Regions from separate parts of the Homo sapiens genome. Here regions 1, 3 and 4 are each linked to region 2. Evidence: promoter capture Hi-C in 16 types of primary human blood cells and fetal thymus (Javierre and others, 2016). All regions are on one chromosome and are shown on one strand. The core of a region is centred on a gene start or on the middle of the fragment in contact, and the rest is flanking DNA. Distances in the headings are between cores, read along the strand shown. Region 1 overlaps ZDHHC3 (zDHHC palmitoyltransferase 3). Region 2 holds the start of ZNF660 (zinc finger protein 660). Region 3 overlaps TOPAZ1 (testis and ovary specific TOPAZ 1). Region 4 overlaps TGM4 (transglutaminase 4).

Region 1 (6,880 bases), core at 1,951-4,450, 330 kb after region 2:
TTTCTTTATGCCAATAAGCTTCTTAAATGTGCTGGCGGTTTATGCAGTCACTTGGGGAGCCATGGAATCCTTTGATCTCCCCAGGCAAGGTGCTCTGAGGAGTTGGCTTCTTTATTGTCTGTTCAGTACATCCAACCCCTCTCTCAAAGGCTGTCACCCCAACTGGATACACACCCTGGCAAAGGCACGTAGCTTGAATGAGGGTTATTTTGTGTCTAATTCACAGGAGAGTCATGGGTGGGATACCTGTCATCCTCTGCCTTTCCAGCTGTCCAAGTGAAAAAAACCTCAATCCTGGTCACCCTTGCCCAAGTTGCCCACATCCCTGGCATACAGTAGGTGTTCAATAAATGTTTATTGAAGGAAAGGTGACTGTTCCTTCTGCTGGAAATACCACAAGGGTGGTGACACAAACAAGAGTTTGGTCAGTCACTCCACAGCACAGTGTCCGATCCCAAGAGGTGATATAGCCCGGCACGGCCACTGTGTGGTGCCGTATGACACTCACTTGTCTCCCACACTGGGAATGGAAGAAAAGTAGCTTTCCTAGAGGTGCCTTTAGGGTGGCCCATAAGGAAGGACACTGCCCAAGGGTTTGAGCTGGGATCTCTTAATTAAAACAGGAGACTCCAGTCACTGAGGGTGAGCAAAGAGCTTTTTATTCAAAGAAAGAGGCAAATTGCACCCAATCTCTCTCCCTGTAAGATCTCATCTGGTTTTGACATCAGTTGCAATGCTTTCAGTCTGAGGCTAAGCAGAATGTTATGCTGTGAATGGTCACCACAGAGAGACCACTGTGTTGCTGGTGTGGGGAGGCGAGGCTCAGGGTTGGACAGGTTAATTACCTACATAACCCTGGCTGTGGCCCAGCCCAGCACCTCCCAGAACAGGGACTGACATGGCTGAGGTCTACCTTGGAGATGGGGTCAGTGAAGAGGGGAGGCAGGGTCAGCCTCTGTGCAAGTAAAATGCCCCCTCACCCCAGCCTTCCTTTCCAGAGCAACCAATCTGAAAACAGAATTGCCTTTGGGGCTGGTGTTGTACCTCTGCTTTCAGGCCAAGATGGATTCCCTAGAAGAGGAGTTTGAAGCCCAATGTGCAAGGACATTTCTCAAGGGCCATGTGGTTTTGCAGACACTGCTGTCCTCAGGCCTGAACTCACCATGGAAACCCATGTCAGCAAACAGTGACCAGCAAATCCTCTTCCCTTATTCTAACTGCTGCCCCCTAGGAGACTCCAGGGGGCAGGCATTGCTTCCTCCCTAGTGTGAACTCTCTGGTATTCCATCCACCATCCTGGCAGCCCAGAGCTGCTTCTGGGTTAGGACAACAAATAGGGGGCCCTACAGTCAGAGCAGCTCTTACCCAAAGTGGTGAGCGTCAACTTCCTGTCCAGATTGCAAGTTAATGGCCTTTACAGCTGACTCGGGCTCCTATGTCGTCATTAATAAATATTAAAGCTGATAAGGACCAAGAAAGTGGGCCTGCAGCCTGAGTGTGGGAGGCCCAATGTCTTTCTGGTTGCTCTGTTGATGTTAGAATCCCACCATCACCCCTCTCGTGGGTCATAGTTGGAGAGCTCTGGCAAGGGTTAGGGCAGAGGTGGCTTTGTGAACACTGGGCCCTTTGAGCAATTAACCCCAGGCCCTAGTGGGTCATCAGTTGTAGAGAGACGGTCTCTGGCAGGATCGTTGCCCTTCACAGAGTGTCCAAAGATGCTGTCCAAGAACCAGGATGCTGCTTGGCTCTTTTCTTTCTCACGGTCGCCAGTTTCCTTTCTCAGCATCCTGAGGCTGCACCTCCAAACACTGACCTTCTTCTCCTCTGAACTGCAGCCACAGGCCCCTTGGGGCCAGGACTCATGCCCTTTTGCCTGGAGCTGGAAGGGGGGCCCTAACACTGAGGTCTTGCAGGGGCATGCTCTGCTGAGTGCCTGTGCTCCTGCCAATCCTGACGCCAGTAGACGCTGGGGAAATGGGCCAAAGAGAGGAACAAAGGCACGTGGAGGGAGTGGGTGGTGAATCCACTTCTTATACCAAACGGGGATAAGAACCCTTCTGTTGGGCTTTGTGCAGAAGATGCTGCTTCAGCAACCACTGGAATGGGGTTTAGGAGCACCAGAACGCTGCTCAGACCTTCAGCAGTGGTCACAGACACCACAGGCTTCAAATGGGGTGAATAGAGGGCAGACTCATCCTGGTGGGGTGTGTGTGTGTGTGTGTGTGTTTGTCTATCTTCCTGATTCATCTGATTCATCAATCAGCAGACCCTGGCCATCACCCATCTTTTCAGAGACAAGATGGGCACCAATTTGGGAGAACTGGCCTTTTCAAACACACAGGCAGGGTTTATGGTCAGTTCTACCTACATGTGTTATTAGACTCCCTCCAAGAGGTAACATTCAATTAAGTTCTCATGCGAGTGGTTAGGGAGTCCCCAGTAGCTCCAAAGAGGTCCTTCCCATATCCACATCTGTGAATGGCTAGATATGTAGCCACAGGCAGGACAGCTCCCAGCTGTCTCGCTCAGTGAAGACTCCAGTGTCTGTGGAATGGGGGCTCATTTTCGGTGCTACTGTCTTAACTCTGGCTCTGTCCATGCTGGACATGTCCTGCACATGTGTGTGTAGAGCTTAATGCAGGGTCCTCTTTGAACCATGCCTGGCCCTTGCAGGTAGATGTGGCAGCCACCTCTACCTCCTAATTTCGGCAGGCAGCATGGGGAAGCCCTTTCCAGGGAGTAGCTGGCAGCTCTGCAGTCTTTCCAGGCTAGTCTCCCCTGATGTCAGTGTCCCAACCCAGGTCCCCAAGGCAAGCCCTGCCCGGTCCTTCTGTCACAACCTTACTTCTCAAAGCCAGGAGCCAGGGGCCCAGCCTTCCCAAGAGAAGACAGAAATCCTGGGGAAAGCCAAAGGCAAGCTCTTTTCTGCCCCTGGGATGCCCTGTTCAAAAGCTCCCTTTGCTGGGCGGAGAATGTGAAAGCCACCCAGTCTTGGAGAACGGTTCTTGATGAGCCGTCTCAGTGCAGACTCTTCTTAGATGAACTCTGAGAAAGCCCCCATCCTCCTCTGATGTCCCCAGCCTACTCCCGACCCCCAGACCTGGCCCAACATGGAGAGAAGAAGGAGGGGAAATGGCAAGGCCAAGCGAGTGGCTAAGGGAAGCACTGGGGGTGCTGGGAGCGCACCATGCCCATAAGCCCCTTTAGCCAAAACCCCAGGATGAAGGTTGACAGCACTTTTTAGTGTTTGCTTCTCTCCCCACAGCAGCATCTATTCATCTGTCACCTCCACAGAGTCCTCGTCCTTTGTCTCCTCTGATGGATCCTCCATTGTTTCGGTGTCTGACAGCGATGTCACCTGCCGCACCATGTCTTTGTCACTGGGGATCTCTGGCTGACACGGTCTGGAGAAGGGGTTGAACCAGTTCAGGGAGAAGTCCCCACCAAAGGTCTCCTTTACTGACTGCCAGCTCCCCATGTGCTCCCTGGGCTGGTTCTTTCGTTTGAGGCGCTCGATGCCCTGCAGGGAGAAGGGGATGAAGAACATCGTCAGCGTGGTGCTGGGCTGTACAGCTCACATAGACACCCCCAGCTATAGCATAGCAGTGGCGGGGGGGGGGGCGGGGTGTCCACGGCATGGGTAAGATGGGGTCTGAGTGGGCAGTCTGTTGTGGCCCAGGTCACCCCCGGGAGGTCCCTCAGAGGACTGCTGGGGTGTGGGTGGACAGCAGCGTGGAGGAACACAGCAAGCAGGGCCCGCCTGGTGGACTGACGTGTTCTCCACCCACCACCCAGCCCTCCCCTTCTTTCCTTCCACAAGTGCAATGCCAGATGATGGGCAGGGGCTAGGCTGATGAGTGGCTGAGGCATAAGGGGGACCACACATCCTCTGAGGCCACTACAAACTGGTGATCCCCTCCTAAATATTTTTGGCCACTCCCACCAGGGTAGATAGGGGCTGCAAACACAGCAGAAGGACGATGGGGTTAAGGAAGGAGTGCAGGACACAAACAGCATGCGAGGTGAAGAAGCGGGTGCTCGTACAGCAAGTGCCAACATGCATTAGGCAGCCGGAGGGCACACAGGACCACTGTGGGGAGGTAAGGCTGGGCTCAGGCCTGCTCATGCAGCAGATCCACCCTGCAGCCTCTTCCAAGCTGTCAACTCACCTGCCTCTGGGTGTCGGCTGCAACTCAGCCACCAGGCCACAGAAAGGGTGTTGGGGTGGGGAGATGCCCAGAGGAGGTAAAGACATGGCCAGGCCAGCTCTCCAGGCCCACAACACCCTGCACAGAGGCCTTTGACCCTCCACTGGGGGCACTGCTTTCTCCATCTCTTCTGGAAGCCAAGGGAATTTGCTGTGGGTTTGCTGGGCTTGGGCACTGCTCCTTCACATGACTCAAGAAAGATCTCTGTGTATCTAGCACTTTTTCTTCCCACGCCATTTCAGAGATTTAAGATTCTTGACTTTTGAATAAATTCTAAGTTAAAAAAATTGGATCTCAAAAGTATATCCTCATAAGATACTTATCAATTACAAAGGGAAAAACAGTACCTTAATAGCAGGGAAGAAACATTGCACGTACCACCTTCACCCAATGATCAAAGTTAACATCACAATAATGAAACGTATCAACACCATATGCCTCCTGATACGGTGCAACGAGGACACATTGCTTCAGCAGTGCTCCTGCCCCAAATGCCTAACCTCAATCTAATCATGAGAAAAACATCAAAAACACAATCTGAAGGACAGCCTACAGAATACCTGCCCTACAATCTTCAAAAGGGTCAAAGATTGATGAAAAGATTTTGGAACCAGACAGACCTGGTGGTTACAAAACATTGTGAATGCATTAAATGTACACTTTAAAATGGCTAATTTTGTGTTACAGGAATTTCACCTCGATTTTTAAAAAGGGTCAAGGTCATGAAAGACAAAGGAAGACTGAGGAACTGTCACAAACTGGAGGAGACTAAGGAGACATCGCAAATGATGCAGTGTGGGATCCTGGAACAGAAAAGGGTGTTAATGGGACAACTGGAGAAATGTGAATAAGGTACATACATTAGTTAAGGGTATGGTGTTGCCAATGTCCAGGGTTTTATATTTGTATTATGGTTGTATAAAATGTTTACCTTTGGTGAGACTGACTGAAAGGTACATGGGAACTCTTTGTACTGTTTTTGTCACATTTTTGTAAGTCTGATTTCACAAAAAGTTTAAAAATAATCAATAATCTGAGACAAAGATTTATGCAATACAAACTTGAACACTGAATTATAATAATGCAAAGCTGGAAATGAGAAATGCCCAATAATGATGGTTAAGCAAATGATTCTATAACACTATGCAGCTAGAAAAGATGGTTTAATATGGTTTTACATGACATTAGAACATTTGTCTGAGTGGTTACTTTTGGGGATGGAATTCTAGAGGATTTGTATTTATTTCTGTAGACTTCTCACACAATCCAAGTTTTACCAATGAGCCAATGTTACTTTTATAATCAGAACAAAAATAGTTGTTTCAGAAAATGGATCTTGTTGACACAAGTCTAAAGGGACCTTCATGTGGGTCATGAGCATGTGATGCCATGCTGCTTCCTGACTGGCCCCTCGCCAGGCCTCCCTTCTTGGCACAGAAGCAGTGACCAGCTGAGATGGTTTGCTTTGGGCATTCTGCATTCTCTTCCTGGGTGATCATCTGCAGCCTGTTGAGAAAGAGGCTTTAACTTCATAGCACGAGAGCTGGGACATCACCATATGGCAGACCCGGCTACAGAGGAAACACCCAAAAATGACAGACTGGCTGCATCCACACTGACTTGGACTCAAAGCCATGACCATAGGTTTTTATGGCCTCCTTGTGAGGAGGTGGGTATGAGTATTGATGATTGGCAGATGGGGAAGAAACAGAAGTTCCAAGAGGCCATGACGGTGGCCAAGGCTCATCTAGCTTGTTATGTATCAGAACTGGAACCAGAACTAGTGTCTTTTTTTCTGCCCAACAGGTTTCCAGTTCTACTGCAAATCACCACTGTGCCCAGGCTGAGCTCAGTCAGAGAGAAGGGGAATGAAGCCAAGAGCCCACAGGATGATTATTTGCCATTCATGTGGCATGCTCCCAGATAGGCACTCTTGGATTATACTCAACCTCCTCACCAACCTCATAAAGTATTCCAGACAGAGCCTGGCCTGTCTACCAGAGGTCTTCAGCAGTAAAGTCGACAAACTTTCAGGGAGTGTTGACTTTTGAGTCTAGAAAGAAAATATTGCAAACAAATCCGATGTATAAAAATGGGCTGAGGGCTGCTTTTTCCTGGTAGGACTCAATTTTGAGTTTTGTGTGGATTTAAAGGGATCCTGCAGGCAAAGTTCTTAAGCTTGAGGTTTGCAGAGGAGCAGTAATAGTAGCTTCAGGCTCAAGAGAACGAACAAAAATGGTTGATGCCTGGTAAGGGGGTCATAGTCGACACCAGAAGCTCTTGCAGGGTGTGTGATGGGCCTTTTGGCCCAGGTCAGTCTGGGTGACACATGAGCTGTGATCTGTGAACAAACTCACCAACACTCCAAAATGAATGTATTAGGACTAAGGCTCCCGAGGAAGGAAGAGTCTGTGCAGAACAGACTCAGCTGAGCCCCACAGAACGAGAACAGGCTGTTCCCTGCTCCCTGTATCATCAGATGTAGAAAGCCAGAGCCTCAGGGAGCAGCCTATGCAAATGTGTCTCTTCATAGCGGGCCAGATAACACTGTCTCTCCTCATCAGAGATTTCATACCTCTATATTGTAACCCACAAGAGGAAACATTTTTCTGTTGCATTCCAGAACACATATACACACAACTCCCTAAGCTTCATAAAACAATACTTATCCT
Region 2 (6,618 bases), core at 1,509-4,008:
AAATCATAACAGTCCTCCACTAATATATGCACAGGGTCACTTTACCCAGGTGGATGCCAAGTAGGGTGAGATGCAGACTCCCTTTTAAGGCATGTGAGTGCTTTACATGAAAACACAATAGGAGAGCAATGTATGACGGCCCACCTTTCTGGCCTGTGGGTATTCCTGAAATGATGCCTGGTTAAGACTTGTCAACTGACTAAAATTACAATGTTTTTTCCCCTTAGATGGCCTAGTCCACAAACTTAAAAAGACCTGACCAACTAGACGTTGATTTCATTTACCCAAATGAGTTAGAATTTCTTTGGCAGATAGATGTCATAATAAAGATTGAAATTGCTGAGTATTTAGGCAATTATGACACACAAAAAAACACCCTGATTTCTGAGCAGTGACATTATACTTGACTGAATGAATAGATTTTTGTAGGAAAAAGTATGCTTGTGGATAAGGGCAATAGAAGCTGGATACAGGCAGGCTGGAATCTATTTTTAACATATATTCTAGTGACCCTTACGTTCTCTAAAATTTGAGAATTACTGGACTAGAATATTAAGGAGTAATCATTCCTCCCTGGGACCAGATGTAGGGTTAGCAGCTTGAATCAGAATGAATGGCCCCACCCACCCAAATGAAAGAGTAGGTGAAAGGGAAGACTAAGTAAGTTAAAGATCACAGCTCCCTTAATGTACATGAATATTCGTGTGTGTGTGTGTGTGTGTGTGTGTGTGTGTGTGTGTGACTGAGTTTCACTCTTGTCTTCCAGGCTGGAGTACAATGGCGTGATCTTGGCTCACTTCAATCTCCAGCTCCCGAGTTCAAGCGATTCTCCTGCCTCAGACTCCTGAGTAGCTGGGATTACAGGCGCCTGCCACCATGCCCAGCTAATTTTTGTAATATTTAGTAGAGACGGGGTTTCACCATGTTGGCCAGGCTGGTTTCGAACTCCTGACCTCAGGTGATCCACCCGCCTCAGCCTCCCAAAGTGGTGGGATTACAGGCGTGAGCCACCACACCCAGCCTATTCTTTTTAAGTTTCTTGATGTAGTGGCAGTAGTCTTGTGCTCTTCAGGAGAGTGTCCCGAGTTCTACGTCCCACATCAACTGAGGGTGTGAACTTGTGGAGGACTTTTGTCTGAATCTCTTTTTCAATCTCTATACAATGTGGCGGAGTTGTGCCACCTACATGAGCCAATGGAGAAGAAAGCTCCTGGTATACTTTAAGTACTCAACAATATTAAATACTGAATATTTGTCAATTGACGAAGTACTTCAAAAGCTTGATTCTCAGACTCCTTCTTAGATAAATCATTCCCTAGATTGTCTCATCCTGTCCTGACAACTTCCAAATTTATGTCTTTAGCTGTGATCTCTTCACGGAAGTCCAGACTCCTATTCCAACTGCCTGTTTGGCATTTCATCTTGGATGTTTAATTGGCATCTTTAACACATCCAAAACAAAACTATTAATCCCTCTCCCTAAACCTGTTCCTTTCAAGCTACTCGATTTCTAAAAGACCATCCCATGCTAGTTGCTCAGATCAATAACCATGGAGTCATCAGTAACCAACATTCAATTCATTAGCAAATCATGCAGGCCATGCCTTCAAAATATATGCAGAACCATTTCTCACTACCTGCATCACTTCTAAGCCTGTCCAAGCCACTATCAGTCCTCATCTGGAATATTGTAATGGCCTCTTAATCTCCCTGATTCTACTCTTACCCACCTTCAGACCGTTCTCAACAAGACAGCCAAAGCAAACTAAAAATATAAGTCAAAGAGCAAAATTCATGCAAGGTTTATGTTAGAATGGCTAAGGACAGACAGCAAAGAATTCACAGAATTTATAGTAACAGGCTTCTTGGCTTCTTTCATGTCTCATAGCTAACAAGTCTTTGAATATGTGGTAAGGGAAAAAAAGTTAGATCATGTCGTTCCTCTGTCCCCAAGCCCTCCAGCTGTTATGCAGAGCAAATCCAAAGCCCTTATCATAGTCTACAAGATCCTAAATGTGCACCTCTCCACCCCACTCCTGATTAAAGAATTTTGCTCCTAATGGCCCACTATGGGAATACTCTTTCCCCAGATAGCCACATGCTTCAATTGCCCACTTCCTGTCTCTGCCCTCCCTGTCATCTGTAAAATAGTCCCACCACTATCTCCCTCTCTCCCCTTACTCCCTCTCTCCCCTTACTGCTACGTTCTACATATTTATTTATCATTGTCTCCTTGACTTGAATGTAAACTCAATGGGGCAGAGAGTTCATTTTCTTCACTACTGTATCCGCAGCGCCTGGAACAGTGAGTGACATAGTAGGCACCCAAAACGTCTTTTCATATGCTGCCAATAAACCATAGCTGATCCTGGCTTTGAGGCTGAATGACCCAGATCTGTGGAAGGAAAGATGACCTCTCTGCTCAGCAACCGGAGCTGGGGGTGTAACTTTAGGGAGTCTCAGCCTGAGGCTGGCAGCCTGGCCACCCAGATGCTCGGTCTCTTTCCGCCCTAACCAAGCCCCCTGCCCAGCTTCCACCACTTCCAGGGCCCTCCTCACATTGGCTGAAGTCGCCAAGCCCTTCCATCCAATGATAGGGCAAAGCCCGGAAGGGAGGCAGGGCCAGAGCGTCGGCCGACCGCGCGGGGCTTCTGAGGGGCGGGGGGACTCCAGCCCGCGGGCACAGAGATGTGGAAACCTCACGAAGCCTAGAAGGGCCGGAGGGACAGGCTGGGAGTTAGCTGGGAGTTGCTGACGCAGTTCCTTCTGCGCTTTGTTCAAGATGTGGGTCTGGCGCTTTCGGTGAGGGGTGCTCTACAGTCTGGCGTGGGGGGTCGGGCCGGGTTCTGGGAGCGTGTGGGAGACGCAAGCCAGGAGGCCAGGGCTCCTCTGCGGCTGCCCGCTGCTGAGATGGGCGCGGCAGCCAAGGGGTCGTTGTGGGCCTCCCCTTTCTCTCGTTCAGTGCTGCCCCTTTGTCTTGGGTCCAGTCTCTGACTCCTCGTAGCTGCTCGCTTGGACCAGGCTGGCCGTGGTGACAGCACTGTGTCGTCCCCGCTCCTAGGCAGTGGGCCTTCCGGGTAGTAGCGGTCGAGTCCCGCCTAGGCTCTCAGGACTCCACAGCCCCTGAGTATTTGACTCAAATCACCAGTCCAATATCCCTCCCGTTACCAGTGAGGAACCTGGGGCCCAGAGAAGAGGACGGAGTCTTGCCCAAGGTTACTCATTCATTCATTGATTCATTCAACAAATATTTATTGAGCACTAACCCAGTAGTGTGCTAGGTCCTGGGGTTATGGTTGTGTACAGGACAGAACTAAATTCTAGTAGGGGAGAAATGAAACAAACTTCAAGGGTTAGAAGCAGAGCCTGGGGATCTGGAGGGGGAAACACAAAACATATTTGAGGCTTAGTAATCCTAAGAAATGGGTAAACAGAAAAAAGGAACATTCTTTTTCTAGTGCTCTTTTAAAGACTTGTTTCTTTCTGTCTTCCTAAAGACACTTGACTCAGCAAAGTTCTCCCTCTCATCCCCCTTGTGCAGACTTTCTGTGGAAAGCTGGATTGCAAGGAAGTTCTCCACTGCATTGTATTTTGCAGTTAGATGAGAATATGGAAGCTTTTAGATATCAATGGAGCAGGTGAAAAGGGGAGGCTGTGGTGTGATGGAATTAGGATTTCCTGAAGACACAGAAGGCTTTTTAATCACTCACTAGCTATAGGACCTTGGGCAAGTCGTTCAATCCCTGGGAGCTTCATTCCCTCATCTTTACACTGGAAATGATCCTTCTTACTGCCCACAGTTCTATAGGAAGGGAAGTTACCCAAAGATGGGACACTGCCCTGAGTGTCCACTTGGAATTCAGGGCTCAGAGAACTCAGTCATTTATATCTGTTTACAGTGACTCAAGACCCTCTTAGGAACTTCTTCACTGAACTCAAGGAGGAGATCAGGCAAGATCTGTGCTGTGCAGATCCTTTGGATTGAGGCTGCTGTGCACAGGAATATGGGTGAGTCATTCCATTCTCTCCTGGGCAGGTGAGGCCTAGATTGTGAAGTTAGTCTGGGCACAGGAATCCTGCTTGTGGGCACCAGGGTTGAAAGGGAGCTTCTCTCAGTGGTATTTATCAAACAGGAGAAAAGCACTGAAGTGGGCAGGGGGCCTCTGGACCTTGAGGAGTAGAGTTTTGTTTCAGATGGGAATAAGGGTGATGTAGTAGAACTCAAAATTGGGTGTCATGGGACTTGGATTTGAGTCCCAGCTTTCCTCTAAGTTCCAAGTTTTCCTTCTGTACATTTGGATATAAGACTGGATAGACTGGGAGGTTCCTTCCAGCTCTGACATACTGAGAGTCTCTGAATAGTGGGACCAGGTCAATCTCTTAGGGAATTTAGTCCCTGGGATGACTCTGTTGAGACAGAATTGCCAAGAATGCAAATACACCATTATGGTGTTTCCCAGATAATATGAAGCACAAAAAGGACAAACATGTAGAGGAGGGATGGTAGTAGTGATGTGTGGATTTGGCTCTCAGCATCCCTATGTGCACTCCAGGTGTTAGAATCTTAAACTTGTTTAATTTACCATTTCAAATCAAACAATGCTGACTGAGCCCTCTCTGTGTCAGACACCATGTGGTATCTACAGGCAAATCTCATGGGAACTGCTCTCTGAGGGCATAGAGCTTAATGTATATATTTGAGGATGGACACAGACATACACACAAGCAATTCCAGTATAAGGCAAACTCTATTTTATAGATTTGTTATGGCATTTTTTGGAATACAGAAATTTTTATGTGTCAGATATATCAGCTTTTTCACATGGTGTTAGCCTTTCCCTTGAGGCTTAGGCCTTTCTTCTAATTCTTTTTTTTTCTTGCAATGTTTACATTTCACTTATCCATCCCTTGAATTTATTTTCAGGTATTTCCTCTTATTCCTTACTCCACTGCACCTAATCAATAACCAAGAACCATGTAACCATTGCTTAGAGGGACTTGAACAGGCAGATGATGCTGGTGAATTAAAGGAAGACAGCCTCCAAGTAAAGCCTCTCTCTCTCTCTCTCAATAGGATTCTACCCTTTATGTATTTTTCACAGCCTGAAATGGATGGTGGTCCTAGGATTAGAACACTTACCTACCAGTCTCAGAGATTTGTGGGTTAGAGATCTGCAGGGCCTTATCAGTCCTCATACATTCACTGGCTGTCTGAGATTTTGCTTTTCTGTACAGTTGCCTAGATACCCCTAGTGTCCTACTGGCCTGTGGCCTCATGTTTCCCTCCAAACTTCTCCAGCCAAGACCCTACTTCCTTAGTACCTAGGAATTCTTCCAGGATTTCTGAGGGCATTTCCTATCCAATCAGACAGAAGGGAGCAAATAGGTTTCTTTTTGATCAAACTCTCCTCATTTGGCCCTCTTTGATCTCCTGTCTGGTCCTGCTTCCTCCTCAGCTCCTCCATCACCACCCTGGGCTTTCTTACAGTGCATCGCTGTGCATTTCTCTTTCTCCCTACCTGCCCCTTTGTGTTAGGCTATTCTTGTGTTGCTGTAAAGAAATACCAGCCGGGCGCGGTGGCTTACGCCTGCAATCCCAGCACTTTGGGAGGCTGAGGTGGGCGGATCACCTGAGGTTGGGAGTTTGAGACCAGCCTGACCAACATGGAGAAACCCCATCTCTACTAAAAATACAAAAAATTAGCTGGGCGTGGTGGCACATGCCTGTAATCCCAGCTACTCGGGAGGCTGAGGCAGAGGAATCACTTGAACCTGGGAGGCAGAGGTTGTAGTGAGCTGAGATCACGCCATTGCACTCTAGCCTAGGCAACAAGAGCGAAACTTCGTCTCAGAAAAAAAGAAAGAAAGAAAGAAAGAAATACCTGTGACTGGGTTAATTGTAAAGAAAAGAGTTTAAATTGACTCACTGTTCTGCAGGCTGTACAGGAAGCACGGTGCCAGCATCTGTTCAGTTTCTGGGGAGGCCTCAGGAAGCTTTTACTCATGGTGGAAAGTGAAGTAGGAGGAGGCAGAGCATGGTGAGAGTAGGAGCAAGAGCAAGGCAGAGGGATACCACACACTTTTAAACAACATGATCTCACGAGAACTCACTATCACAAGGACAGAACCAAGAGGATGACGATAAGCCATTCATGAGAAATCTACCCCCACGATCCAGTCACCTCCCAACAGGCCCACCTCCAACATAGAAGATTACATTTCAATGTGAGATTTGGAAGGAACATCTAAATGATATCACTTTTCTAACCCAAATCCCTTTCTCAGTAAGCTTATCTGTTTTTTTATTTTTTTAATGTATTTATTTATTTTGAGACAAGTTCTCACTGTCTCCCAGGCTGGAGTGTGGCGGCATGATCATAGCTCACTGCAGCCTCGACCTCCCTCAGCCTCCCAAGTAGCTGGGACCACAGGCATATGCCACCACACCTGGCTCACTTTTTAAAATATTTTTACCCAGGCTGATCAAACACCTGGGCTCAGGCAGTCCTCCCACCTCACCCTACCAAAGTGCTGGGATTATAGGAGTGAGCCACCGTGCCCGACCCTCAGTAAGTTTATACATTTTCATGACTCCCTCTGTCCTCTCTGTCTTATCAT
Region 3 (7,020 bases), core at 246-2,745, 260 kb before region 2:
TGCCTGATCCCATGCTGCCCCTCACAGACCGTTGGTTGATTGGCAACACTGAACAGGTTTTTAAAAAAGATGGCAACACAGAAAAAAACAAAAACCCAGACAGGGAGATGATGTGGGGAGAGAGCATGCTAGGTCAGATTTTTTTATATACCTAAACAGTTTGATAAAAATTTTAAATGAATCTCCTAAAATACCATATATACTTTCCAAAAAATGTGACCATTACCCTACCTTAAATATAAAGAATAAGTATTAAAGAAAAATGATGCAATTTTTATGAGAAAAGGTTTATATAATCTACTTTTTGTACATGGGATATATCTAACAGATAAAAAATAATTGAACTTATTCAATCAAAGTAAAATTCACTTTATAAGGAATGGTGAACGAACAGTTTTACTTTTAATGGGAATTATGTTTAACAGATGATCATACAGTCTTTGAAGATATTAAATTCATTTACATTTCTCTCTATATTAAAATGTCAGCAAATGTAGAAGCAAATTAATGAAAGTATCTGTCTAAATGAGTTAATATTCTTAAAGCACTTAGAACATTCCTAACACATAGTATAACTCTGTTAGGTCAATCAGTCAATCACATGGGCTCTAGTAATTGAAAAGCTCCTTTTTAAAGCTTTATACTGGATACTAAAAGCTTTCTTTTGTCATGATATATTTGAATTATCAACTTTTTCTTCAATACTTTTTATATTCACTGTGCTAGGAAGGCCACAAAATAAAAGGATTACTTCTACATTTAGTTCAGTTGAAAAAGAGCACCAAAATATGATTTGAATGTTACATATAGTAATGTTTCACTATGTGTATAATGATTGAGTAAATTAGGTAAATGATAAAATATTGACATTTCTAACATTTTAGTACCTCAGTGTTCTGTACTACAGTCTCCCATTGTTTTTCTCAATGTGAAAATCAGAGCAGAAATTAAGGAACTTCAGCATTATAGGTAATATTCTCTTTTTTTAAAGAGGGTCTGAGGTCTGTTGGTTTGAGGGTCGTAGGTGGGTGTGATGGGTACACAGGAGTTAATTTTATTATTATGCTTTTATAACATATATTATTCTTCTGTATACAACAACGATTTCATAATAGAAATTGTTTTTAAAATAGAAAGTGTTAAGAAAAGCTATTCGCTGGTCGGGCGCAGTGGCTCATGCCTGTAATCCCAGCACTTTGGGAGGCCAAGGTGGGCCAATCACAAGGTCAAGAGATCGAGACTGTCCTGGCTGACACAGCGAAACTCCGTCTCTACTTAACATACAAAAAATTTAGCCAGGTGTGGTGGCACGCGCCTGTAGTCCCAGCTACTCAGGAGGCTGAGGCAGGAGAATCACTTGAACCCGGGAGGCGGAGGTTGCAGTGAGCCAAGATTGCGCCACTGCACTGCACTCCAGCCTGGGTGACAGAGTGAGACTCCATCTCAAAAAAAGAAAAGAAAAGAAAAGCTATTCCCCAGTAATACCAAAAACTAATTAAATTATTTATTGTGAAATTGTTAAACTTGTCCACATAAATAATATTTTATGTTAAAGCAAATATTTGTGATAATCTGAACTTTTTTATATAAAAATAAACATTTAAAATTAGTAATTGACTAGTACACTTAGATGAAGAATTAATTAAAAATAAATATAACAAAGTGGCCATTTGTTTGCATCTTCTTCAGATGATGATCATCACTATATAAGTTATTTCTAATAAATTTGAGCCATGGTTATCTTCTCTGAGTACATATGTTTAAGTTTTGCCTGTTTCTTCAAAAGATATATTGAAACATTAGTTGTGATTATACTGTTAAGTGTCATTTTCATGGTATAAACTATTCATATTTTTTTCTTTTTGGAAGAGTCAGAGTGGATAATCAATACGCCTCTGTGGCCTTGTGATAGACTGGATGTGCTTAATCGACATAATTTACTCTGTACAATTGCACATGAAATCTTAGCCAAGAGCCTTTATAGACAGACATTTGAAGTTTTGCAGAATCTACCAGGTTTTCAAAATTCCCAAGGTATGTTTTTTAAAAGTCTATCTTAATTATCTCTTGCCCATCTGGTGTTTAACTGTTAATAAGAAATAGTTATCCACCTGTTTTGATTGAGTTTTATATTCCAGCATATTTTTTAATGAAGTAGTTTTCTGTAAAATATGTTCTCTGCAAATTGAATATACTTTCCTGATGGTTTAAAAAAATCTGAGATGCTTATCTTTGGGTTGTTTGTCAGCAGTTCCTAAGACAAGCATTTTTATCATTCCCTTTTCCCTACTTCTGTCAAGTCATCAGCAAACAATATGTTTAAATGCCCTGAGCAAGCTTTTTCTCTTATCACTGAATAAATACAGAACTTAGTTTACATTACCTAGGAACACAGGTAAACTTGAAAGAAATGGAGGAAGTGAAACAGATGCCAAGTTCAAACGCCAATGTGGGAAATGGTAGTCAGTACTCTTGAATGTTGGGTGTCCATGAGCAAAAGCTTTGGGTCAAGAATGAGCTATGTGATAGGTTCAGAGGATGACGAAAACGTTAACCTGAGGGCCTCCCCTCAGTACTTTCATCGTACTATCTATAAATTTTCATTTTTCCACTTAATTCCACTGTGCTCCTGTATTGTAATGAGCATTCTTATCTGTTTCTCCTTATACAAAGTGAGCTCAATCAGGATGGTACTATTTTCTTTACCTTGGTATTCCTGGCCCAATGGCTGCTATCTAGCAATCTCTTAATATACAATTAGTTGGTAATGAAACAAAGTAGTAATAGGGAGATTGGACAGATAGTTGTGCCAGATTTTGGAAGACCCTAAATGTCAGGCTAAAGGAATTTTCTTCTCTGTGTATAAAAAGGGATCACTAGAGTTTTGGGTCTAGGGAGTGATATAATGAAATTGGTGTTTCAGGAAAGTTCCTCTGGCAGTAGTGTTTAGGAAAAGACTAAAAGTAGAGAGATTAATTTCCTGATAAGTCCTGGATAACTAAAAGATTCTAAAGCAGTAAGGAACTACAGTCTAGCTCACAGACCCAACTGACTGAATATAGGGAATAAAAGAGAAGTCTCTAAGATGACTTCTCTTTCTTCTAAGAATAACTGAAGGAATAGAAAATCCATTAAAGGATTGTTTTAAATTTGGCAGTAAATATTTATTAGGGGATGATTTGTTTTTAGTCAAGGGATATATAAGGCTAAGGTCTGAACTGTAGATATAATACAAACAGAATTGAGAAATTATTCAAGACACTACAGATACACAGTTACATGTGGGAATCAAATACAGAGGTCTTAATGCATCCTCTGAAATTTTTGTCAAGCTTCTTTTTATCTTCTCTATTGCAAAGGAAGTTAATGGTTTTTCTTTTGTCAAATGCTTTTTCGTTTCTGACTTAGAGAATATGTAAGATAGGTTGGGCGCGGTGGCTCATGCCTGTAATCCCAGCACTTTGGGAGGCTGAGGCAGGCAGTTCACTTGAGCCCAGGAATTTGAGATCAGACGATATGGGCGTGTTCAGGGTGGTATGGCCATAGATGAGCCCAGGAATTCGAAACTAGTCTGGGCAACATGGTGAAACCCTGCCTCTGCAAAAAAACATAAAAATTAGCCAGGCCTGGTGGACCTGTAGTCCAAGCTACTTAGGAGGCTGAGGCGAGAGGATGACTTGAGCCCAGGAGGTGAAGGTTGCAGTGAGCCAAGATCATGCCACTGCACTCCAGCCTGGCTGACAGAGTGAGACCCTGTCTCAAAAAAGGAGAAGAAAAATAAAGAGAATATATAAAATGATTGCATTTTAGTGACTGTGAGTCCTATAATGGGTAAGAAAGGGTGAAGGGGAGGAGAAAGAAAAAGGAGTATGAGATGGAGGTTTGAGACACTTTAATATAAATGAATTTTATTATATCATTTTTTTTATTCCAGAAACTGTGGAAGTCTCACAATATAGCCTTCTTTTTAATAAGCTTCTAGGTTCCTGTATAGAAAGCAGTAGTCTTGGTATGTCATCCTCTGTGGCAGAATTCATGATTTCAAAGAGCATCCCTATTGATTTTTCCTTTCTCAGAAGATTAATTACTTCTTTAGGAAGGAGTCGTTTATGGCTCAAAGCCAGAGCCCACTACAAAAGTAAGTTACATTTAAAATGTTTTAATATATTGGTTTATAATTGTATTCTCTAACCCAGAATTTATAATATATAAGATTAGATATTTATATGTATTAAAAGAGCAGTAATACATATTCAAATGTAGTGGTCTCAACAGATCTGTGCTCTCTTTTGAAACCTATTGTTTCTCTTCTGTTTCCAGTTGCTTTCCTTATTTCCAATGTTTGCAATTTCCAATCTTTATTTCTTGCACAGTAGCCTGTCCGCTAGAGGGCGAGCAAAGGGAACAAATGACAGGATAGAACCAGTTTGGCATATCTTATAAATAATGCAAGCATAAAACAAGTGGGTAGAATGAAGTTTAAAGAAGATCTGTTTTTATTTATCTCTGCTATATCCCTAATTGTTATAACTAAAAATATTCAATAGCAGGTCACATCAGAAGCATAAAGGCTGTCATAACAATGCAACATAGTATATGTTTTTCACATGGCTTTTAGTAATAGAACTTTGTTAATCTACTTACAGCTGTTGTTCTCTAACAAATAAGCCTGGAAAACTAGTGCTTTCTCTAGTCCAAGCCACCTCGCAGGTATTTTAATTAGAAAGTAATTCCATGTACGTTCTAGATCTAGAAAAGCATTGTTTTTTCTGCCTTCATGCAGTAATTTGTCTTCAGCTACCATTTCTACCACTATCATGTATATAACAAATATTTGAGTGCCTACTCTGTGTCACCCCGTACCAAATGTGTCAAATATCCTAGCCACTACTACCTGAGCTGGAAGTGTTTTTCAGGTGGCCAGCTGTGATCAATGCAGCAGGTGGTAACTTTTTTTCCCCAACAAAATGGGAAAGAAAATACTAGGGTACATTACAGGTAGTAAGTTTAATTATTTGATAAAATTTTCATTTCAGTTGCATATATGCACGTATGTATACTGGGTCATTATGCAAAATGTGTTTCTTGTAGGTTATAATCAAAAGAAGTTTTGAAAGCTGAGTTTTCTTAAAAAGGGTGATCAGAAATTTAGAGGAAAGATAGAATTGTTTGTTCATAACACCTAATTTCAATTGTGTGGTTATGTTTCAACTCTTTATACTATTTACCTTCAGACTTCTAGAAACCATACACACACACATATATGTGTGTGTGTGATTTTAGTTTCTAGAATTGAAGTTAATGGGAATAATTTCATATAACTGTGCAACTGGGGGGAGATGCCATCAAAAGGTGTTTATATGCCACAGGAACAAATATAAGCTCAGACATTTAAATGAGATTTTTATAAATATTTCTATTTTTTAGTTGGAAATAAAATTTTATATTAAAGCATCTAGACTTAATCATTTACTTTAAAAATTTTTAACAACTTTATAGAAGTATAATTCAAATGCCATACAAGTCACCCATTTAAAGTATACAAGTCAGTGGTTTTACTATATCTACAGAGTTGTGTAACCATCACCATAATCAACTTTAGAATATTTTATTCATACCAGAAAGAAACCTCATATGCATTAGCAGTCACTCCTCATTCCTCCAAATCAATTCAGCCCTAGTAAGAATTACTTTTAAAGATTTTTTTAGCAGTGTGTTAAAGCAATTAATGCCTGTGTACAATACAGTACCTTTGTTATTGGAACTTTTCCTTTTATCTAATCACATATTCCTTATTTCATATGCAGTGTAACTTCTGAGACTTATGCAAGTGAGGTTACGGGATAAAGAGTATTTTTGTTTTTTAAGGAATGTACTTGAATTATAAAACCATGAATAAAAATGAGTAATTTACAGCCAAGTGAGTAATTTATAGCCACTGATCAGTCTTCAAAACATCTCATTTTCTAACAACATTGACATTAAAATTATATTGGAACTCCTTTTGGATTTATTTTCAGACATAGCTTAACCCTTGCAAGAAGAGCCTTTCAATGGTATATAATCGTGTCTAGTAGTACTTTATTTGGGACTTAACGCTGACTTTCTTCAAGGCACTGTTAAGACTTGGTGCCAGTGCCTTTGTTTTGACTTTTTTTAAACTTTTTTTGTTTTAATATTTTTATGGCTTTATTGAGATAATTTCACATATCATGAAATTAGTTCACTTAAAGTATATAATGCATTCATTTTTGGTATAGTCACAGAGTCATGCAGCCATCACCACCATTTAAGTTTAGAACATCTTCAACACCTCCAGAAAAAGAAACCTTGTACACATTAGCATTTATTCTCCATTCCCTGGTTGTCTCCTCTTCCACCCTAGTCCTAGGCAACAACTAATTTATTCTCTGTCTCCATGAATTTGCCCATTCTAGACAGATCACATAAATGGAATCATTTAATACATGTGTTTTAGTGACTGGCTTTTTTTTTTTTTTCTTGGAGACGGAGTCTCCCTCTGTCACCTAGGCTGGAGTACAGTGGCGCAATCTCGGCTCACTGCAACCTCCACCTCCCAGGTTCAAGTGATTCTCCTGCCTCAGCCTCCTGAGTAGCTGGGATTACAGGCACATATCACCATGCGCAGCTAATTTTGTATTTTTAGTAGAGATGGGGTTTCACCATGTTAGCCAGGCTGGTCTTGAACTCCCAGCCTCAGGTCATCCATCCACCTCGGCCTCCCAAAATGCTGCGATTACATGCGTGAGCCACTGCACCCAGCCATGACTGGCTTCTTATACTTAGCCTAGTGTTTTCAAATTTCAGTGTTGTAGCATGTATCAATACTTTGTTCCTTTTTATTGCTAAACAATATTCTATAAAATGGAATCTGTTTATTCATTGGTTGATGGACATTTGAGTTGTTTTCACTTTTTGGCTATTGTGAATAGTGCTACTTTGAATATTCACATAAGTTTTTATGTGTATATATGCATTCATTTCTCTTGGGAGAATTGC
Region 4 (6,275 bases), core at 845-3,344, 300 kb after region 2:
ACCTTGAGTGTGACTTTATCTGTGGGAATGCCATAAAACTTTGGTGGAGAATGAATTACTCCAAAGAAGATTGGCGTTTATCCCCTAAACCAGTGACAACTGTGACTAGGAGCCAGTTTCTGCCTATGAGCCAAGGACAACTGTTTATTTTACTTTCTCAGTATGGGGGAATCCCAGACCTCTACAGAAAGAGGTGATGTTTGAAATTTTTCATAACCGGTATGCATTCTGCAGGGGCTGTGCTCCCACAAGCACTCTGGGAAGGAGACTCTCCAGGAGTGCCTGCTGGCAGGTGGCAGTAGACTCAGGCAGCAATATGGACACTGGGGGGTGGGGGAATGTGATTTCTTGTGGCAAAAAGTACAAAGAAAAATCAGCAAAGGGAAAAGCCTGCTGGGGTGAGGTCCTGAGGGAGCTAGGCAGGTCTTCCAAGAGTCCTCTCCAGTGTCACACAGGATGTGTTTAATTCCTTTAGCAATTAGTTGTGACATGTTTTTTCTCTGTGTATCTCATTCATTCAGCAATCATAACTTTATTTTCTTTTTGTTTTTAGTAATCTCTTATTCTCACCCAGACCTTTCATCTGGAATGGTTGTTTGCAAGAGGGACAAAAGCATTTTTACAGAAAAATATTTTAATACAACCTAACCAGAATAACACATCATATTCTGGAATTGGTCAGGACAAAATCCTGAATTTTCAAAAATTTTCAAAATGGTAGTTCGGGTGTGGTGGCTCGTGTCTGTAATTCCAACATTTTTGGAGGCTGAGGCAGGAGGATCGCTTGAATTCAGGAGTTTGAGACCAGCCTGGGCAACATAGTAAGACTTCATCACCACTATGAAGTGCACTATGGTGCACACCTGTAGTCCCAGCTACTCTGGAGGCTGAAGTGGGAGGATCCCTTGAGCTCAGGAGGTTGTGGCTGCAGTGAGCCGTGTTCACACCACGGCACTCCAGCCTGGGTGACAGAGCAAGGCCCTGTATTAAAAAAAAAAAAATCAAAGTAATCTTAAATAACCTCTCACTATTTTTTGTCCTGATCATTTATTCATTGAGCAGCCTAGAAAAGGTCAGTCCCTTTCTGGGGAAAGCTGTATTTAATAATCAAACTGCCTTACCAGAAGGAAGGAGAAGGAAATTGTATTAGTTTATTTTCTGTTGCTTATAAAAGAATACCTAAAACTCAGGTAATTTATAAAGAAAAGAAATTCATTTATTACAGTTATGGAGGCTGAGACTCCAAGGTCGAGGAGCTGCATCTGGTGAGGGCCTTCTTCCTAGCGAGGACTCCCTGAGGAGTCCCAAGGTGGTGCTGGGCATCACATGGTAAGCTCAGGTCTTCCTCTTCTTATAAAGTCACCAAGATCCTCTTAAGTGCGTTTTTTCTTGTCATTTCAAGAGTCCCACTTGACCCACTCAAAAATATACATACAGACTGGAAAATCATAAGCTTCTAAGGCTGACAATTTCACAAGAGCTCATTAGCAACTAATGCTAATTTTAGTTTAAAAGCAACTTTGCTTTTTAAAACTCCAAAAGTATATCGCCATCTGGAGATTGCTTGTCTTTTATGTTGTCTCCTTTTTTCCAGAGGCTTCATAGGCAAAAGTTATAGCAAAAATTATCCATTGCAGAGACTTTTGTTTTTTAATACTCAAATAATTTAAACTCCAACCCACACATTGGTGGCAAGAAACAAGGACATTGTATTCCACTGACACTTTTTCTTTGCAGGTTTCCCTGGTCATCTTGCATTTATGACACTGCAAGCATTAAACTGGTATATCAATTTTGACCATCTATCCAAGTGCAATAGCTACAAAATAAAAATACAAACGCTTTTTTTTTTTTTTTTTTTTTAGAGTTGAGGTCTCACTTTGTTGCCCAGGCTGGCGTGTTGTGGCTATTCACAGCTGCAATCATAGCTCACTGCAGCCTCAAACTCCTGGGCTCAAGTGATTCTCCCACCTCAGTCTCCCGAGTAACCGGGATTACAGGTATGTGACTCCAAAGGCATTTTTTTAAAGACAGCCCCAGTGTGGCTTCCTGTAGTTCCAGGATTCCTCCAGCCTCCCAGATCTGCCTTAAGCAGTGCTCAGGTCACAGAGCAGTGCCCAGGAGAGGGTGAGGGAGGAGGCTCCAGTACTGGCCATCTGTTATGTGCTGTATGTTGGTTTCTTAGGGCATTCAAATGACCACAAATGAGGCTGCTTAAAACAACAGCAATTTATTATTCTCTCGTTCTGGAAGATAGACATCCAAAATCAAAATGTCCGCAGGGTCCTGCTCTTGCAGAAGCCTCCAGTGGAGAATCTTCCCTTGTCTTTCTTGGTTTCTGGTGGCTCCAGGTGTTCTGTGGCTTGCAGCTGTGTAACTCCAGTCTCTGCCTCCATCTTCACATGACCCTCCCCTTGCCTTTCCATGTCTCTTATAAGGACACTTATTCTTGGATTTAGGTCCTACCTGGATAATCCAGGATAATATAATCACAAGATCCTTAATCACACCTGAAAATCCCCTATTTCTATAAGGTCACATTCATAGGCTCCAGGTGGAGATATCTTCTGTGGGACCACCATTCAACCCACTATATGCCCATCTGCCTAACATTAATGATGGCCTGCATTTTGTCGAGTGCCTACTGTGTGCCAGGCATGTGCCAGGCACTCAATGTGCACACTAGCCACCAAGGGAGGGACTATGTTTACCATTCCAGGGAGATAAGGTCTTAAGAAGCTTCCACAGAGATGACTGCATTTAGGATTTGGATTTCTTAACTGCTCTTTCCTGCTTCCTGGTACCAAAACCTATACCTTTACCCCTTGGGAACCCAGGTCACCCACCTGCCCAGTCCATGGGGGAGCAGGAATAAGTCAGAACATGGGAGGGACTGTTAAAGCCCTTTTCCAGCTGTGATTGCTTTGCGATTGGCTCTGGGTCCCACAGCAGGAGCTCTGCTGTCCAGGGAAATGAAGAAGCCTTTCAGGATTGCAGCTCCTGACAGCATGCTATGGTTTGAATATGTCTCCCCCTAAAATTCAGGGGTTGCCAATGTGGTGATACTAAGAGGTGGGGCCTTTAAGAGTTGATTAGGTGATAAGGGCTTCTTCCCTGTGAATGAGATGAGGTGCCCCTCTAAAGGGACCTGAAGGAGGGAGTTGGTCCTCTCTCGCCCTCTGCCTTCTGCTATGTTACAATGCAGCAAGAGGCCCTCACCAGATGCTAGTGCCTTGATCTTGGACTTCCCAGCCTCCAGAACTGTGAGAAATAAATTTCTATTCTTTCTAAATGACCCAGTCTCAGGTATTCCATAACAGTGGCACAAATGGGCTAAGATGCTCCAGCTAGCCATCGGCCCACCCCAAGGTTTCAGCCCAAGAAGGGGAAGCACCTGGGAAGGTAGGTCTGTCTGCCAGGTGGGCCTCCCTGCTGGAGGCAGCAGGTTCCCAGGCCCTGTGCGCAGTGTGAAGGGAAGGCCACTTGCTGGGACTTGCCTTCCTGGAGAACACTTGTCCAGACCCCAATCCCAAAGCCACTCCAGCAAGAATGAGCTGTGCTGTCTCCAAACACATCACTGGCCGCATCCCCAAGGTAGGCATCTGATGTGGGCGTGACCACTCCACCTATTTTGTAGTCATGAAAGCCCAGTTTCCATGGCTGGCCTCCTTGATCTCTGCAGAGGATGGGTTTCCTCTGTGGGTGAGCCCTCAGGAGCAGAGGAAGGTCCCTGCATCTCACCTCACTTTACCTCACAGGCCACAGCGGGGCTTCCTAATCTAGGGGTTCTCCATATGTGCCTCCCTGGGCCAGCAGCACAGCGTCATCAAGGAAGCTGCTGGAGAGGCAAATTCTCAGCCACACCCCAGATGTGCTGAATCAGAAACTCAGGGTGGGTCTGGCAGTCTGTGTTTTACCATGCCCTCTGCACACTCGAATTGCCTGGAAAGCTTTGAAAACATAGAGGCTCAGCCCCACTCAGAACAATTGTATCAGAATCGCTGGGGGAGAACATAAGTAGTTTTACAACCCCCAGGTGGTTTCAGCATGCAGCCAAAACACATTTCCCTTCATGACTCATGAGCCTGGGAATGGTTTGAATTTTAGATAAAGGGGAGGGGTTTGGGTCTCAAGCTGAGGTAATACGAAATGTCATTATAACAGACACATGGTGAGAAATACATGTGCTACAGAAAAGGGTGTATTATGCATGTGGAGATTATTTCTTTTACTGAATGTACTTTTCACTTTAGCATTGAAGAAAAAAATCCCCTGTTTTTTTTGGGGGGGATGGAGTCTCACTCTGTCACCCATTCTGGAGTGCAGTGGCTTGATCTCGGCTCCTGATCTCAGGTGATGCGCCGCCCCCACAGCCTCCCAAAGTGCTGGGATTAGAGGCGTGAACCACTGCACCTGGCCTTAAAAATCCCATTTATAATGCAAGTAGTCTTGGCCTCAGATCATGGGAGCTCCTTGGTGCTTCCTCCTCAATTTGGATAAAAAGGCTTCACCCCAGCCACTTTGCACCCCACCCTTCTCTTCAGGATGTGAACTCTCACCTCAGGATGGTGTCTGACTTGAAGCTGATGGGAGTCTGGGCTGAACAGGAAGGGGAGCAATCCCAGGGCTCATCTGTTCCCTCCTCAGTTTGCCCGCTCCCCTCTTTCCCTTCAGCTTTTGTGTTGATTGACGGAGAACACCCTGGCACCAGGTTTGTTCCTGAGGCCATGTCTGCAGAGAGGGGGAGTTGGGGTGGGAAACTTGCCTAACAGCCACTCACAGACTCACCCTGTTTGAAACTCAGTTTCCTCACCTGTAAGATGGGCGTGCACTTACCTATTTTGCGGGGTTACATGACTAAGCACTTGAGTCCACTGCTCTCAGCTCATCCCCATGTAATCCCACAAGGTAGGTATGTGCACACCAGTCTTACAGGTGAAGAAACTGAGTCTCAGACAGATTCATAACCAGCTGGAGGTGGAGCAGGGATGCCCGACTCTAAAGCCCAGCTCCACCTCAATGCACTCTCAGATTTTGAACCCAGAAAGAGGTGATCAGGGAATAAACATTCTCTGTGCTCTCTTTCCACATGTGCTGCGTTGCTGACAGAGCTGCAAGTTCTCCACATTGACTTCTTGAATCAGGACAACGCCGTTTCTCACCACACATGGGAGTTCCAAACGAGCAGTCCTGTGTTCCGGCGAGGACAGGTGTTTCACCTGCGGCTGGTGCTGAACCAGCCCCTACAATCCTACCACCAACTGAAACTGGAATTCAGCACAGGTGAAGCCTCGGGGCCCTACTCATGGGGCTTTGGGGAGGGATCACAAGTGTCTGTGGATGCTGGAGTGGCCCTTTCTGGTCAGTCTGAGCCAGGAGTGCCTTACCCTCCCTGATCCCCAGTTTCTCCATCTGTAATGTGGGAATAATAGCGGGTGTGAAGAGAATAGAATGGGAAGCTCAGTCAGGACCTGGCACATAGTGAGGCTCTGATTCCTTGGCTAAGCAGGGGAGGGGCCAGAGCAGAGAGAGGAGGTGACTCAGCGGGCATCTGCCGTGGTGGGGTCTGGAACATTTTGTAGAGATGAATCATAGGACTGAGGTATGCTGATGCCATAGCGGGGTGGGCTGGAGGCAAGCCAATAATAATGATTAAAATATCATATTTTGGTTGCAAAGATAATAGGAAATGGCTCATGCATTTGTTATAGCTAGGTAAATATATGTGCATAAGTACAACTAGGGGAAGAGAGAAAATGTATTAGATTTTGTGACAGGTGGTGGGATAATGGAGGAGGGTCTTACTTCTTTAATGTTGTTTTTAAGTTTTAAAAATAGATCAAGTAAGCTGGGCATGGCAGCTCATGCCTGTAATCCCAGCATTTTGGGAGGCCGAGGCAGGCAGATCACCTGAGGTCAGGAGTTCGAGATCAACCTGGCCAACATGGTGAAACCCTGTCTCTACTAAAAATACAAAAATTAGCTGGGCATAGTGGCAGGTGCCTGTAATCCCAGCTATTCGGGAGGCTGAGGTAGAATTGCTTGAACCTGGGAGGTGGAGGTTGCAGGGAGGCAAGATAGTGTCATTGCACTTCATCCTGGCGACAAGAGTGAAACTCCGTCTCAAAAAAAAATTAGATCAGGTAGATCTACTTTACAAGATGGCATACAATAGCACTTCCTGGGAGAGCGCTCCTTTTGCTCCTTCTCTGAGTGAACAACAGGCTTAGGGTCTCCTCCAACGTGCTGGTGGAGATCAGTCAGAACAGCCTCCA

The links. Contacts are between HindIII fragments. The CHiCAGO score rates a contact against its expected background, and 5 or more counts as called.
Region 1: a contact is called between a fragment that was not itself captured here and the fragment with the promoter of ZNF660 in region 2, in 6 of 17 cell types (naive CD8 T cells, total CD4 T cells, total CD8 T cells and 3 more). The highest score is 6.9, in naive CD8 T cells.
Region 3: a contact is called between a fragment that was not itself captured here and the fragment with the promoter of ZNF660 in region 2, in 1 of 17 cell types (megakaryocytes). The highest score is 6.6, in megakaryocytes.
Region 4: a fragment that was not itself captured here is called in contact with the fragment with the promoter of ZNF660 in region 2 in 6 of 17 cell types (activated CD4 T cells, total CD4 T cells, total CD8 T cells and 3 more); the score reaches 6.7 in activated CD4 T cells.

The regions. Positions count from the first base shown.
Region 1 is chr3:44,914,624-44,921,503 of GRCh38, forward strand. It overlaps ZDHHC3 (zDHHC palmitoyltransferase 3), which reads right to left. Exons shown (of 7, transcript NM_001135179.2): 7 at 638-6,880. It overlaps TGM4 (transglutaminase 4), which reads left to right. Exons shown (of 14, transcript NM_003241.4): 14 at 1-367. Among named protein-coding and RNA genes, the nearest start is that of TGM4, 43 kb to the left of the region's middle. The HindIII fragment of the contact is 6,368 bases long and covers 17-6,384 here.
Region 2 is chr3:44,582,206-44,588,823 of GRCh38, forward strand. It overlaps ZNF660 (zinc finger protein 660), which reads left to right and starts at 2,759. Exons shown (of 3, transcript NM_173658.4): 1 at 2,759-2,802; 2 at 3,900-4,008. ZNF660-ZNF197 (ZNF660-ZNF197 readthrough) reads left to right here and starts at 2,759. Exons shown (of 8, transcript NR_147692.2): 1 at 2,759-2,802; 2 at 3,900-4,008. All of the region lies in intron 2 of ZKSCAN7-AS1 (ZKSCAN7 ZNF cluster antisense RNA 1), which reads right to left. It also overlaps a transcript of ZKSCAN7 not described here. The HindIII fragment of the contact is 2,337 bases long and covers 1,278-3,614 here.
Region 3 is chr3:44,319,158-44,326,177 of GRCh38, forward strand. It overlaps TOPAZ1 (testis and ovary specific TOPAZ 1), which reads left to right. Exons shown (of 20, transcript NM_001145030.2): 17 at 1,870-2,034; 18 at 3,935-4,138. LOC105377055 (a long non-coding RNA gene) reads right to left here. Exons shown (of 4, transcript XR_940782.4): 4 at 5,534-7,020. Among named protein-coding and RNA genes, the nearest start is that of TCAIM, 16 kb to the right of the region's middle. The HindIII fragment of the contact is 1,680 bases long and covers 656-2,335 here.
Region 4 is chr3:44,880,216-44,886,490 of GRCh38, forward strand. TGM4 (transglutaminase 4) reads left to right here. Exons shown (of 14, transcript NM_003241.4): 2 at 5,110-5,283. Among named protein-coding and RNA genes, the nearest start is that of TGM4, 8.7 kb to the left of the region's middle. RefSeq lists enhancers at 3,679-4,356, 5,382-5,676. The HindIII fragment of the contact is 1,286 bases long and covers 1,452-2,737 here.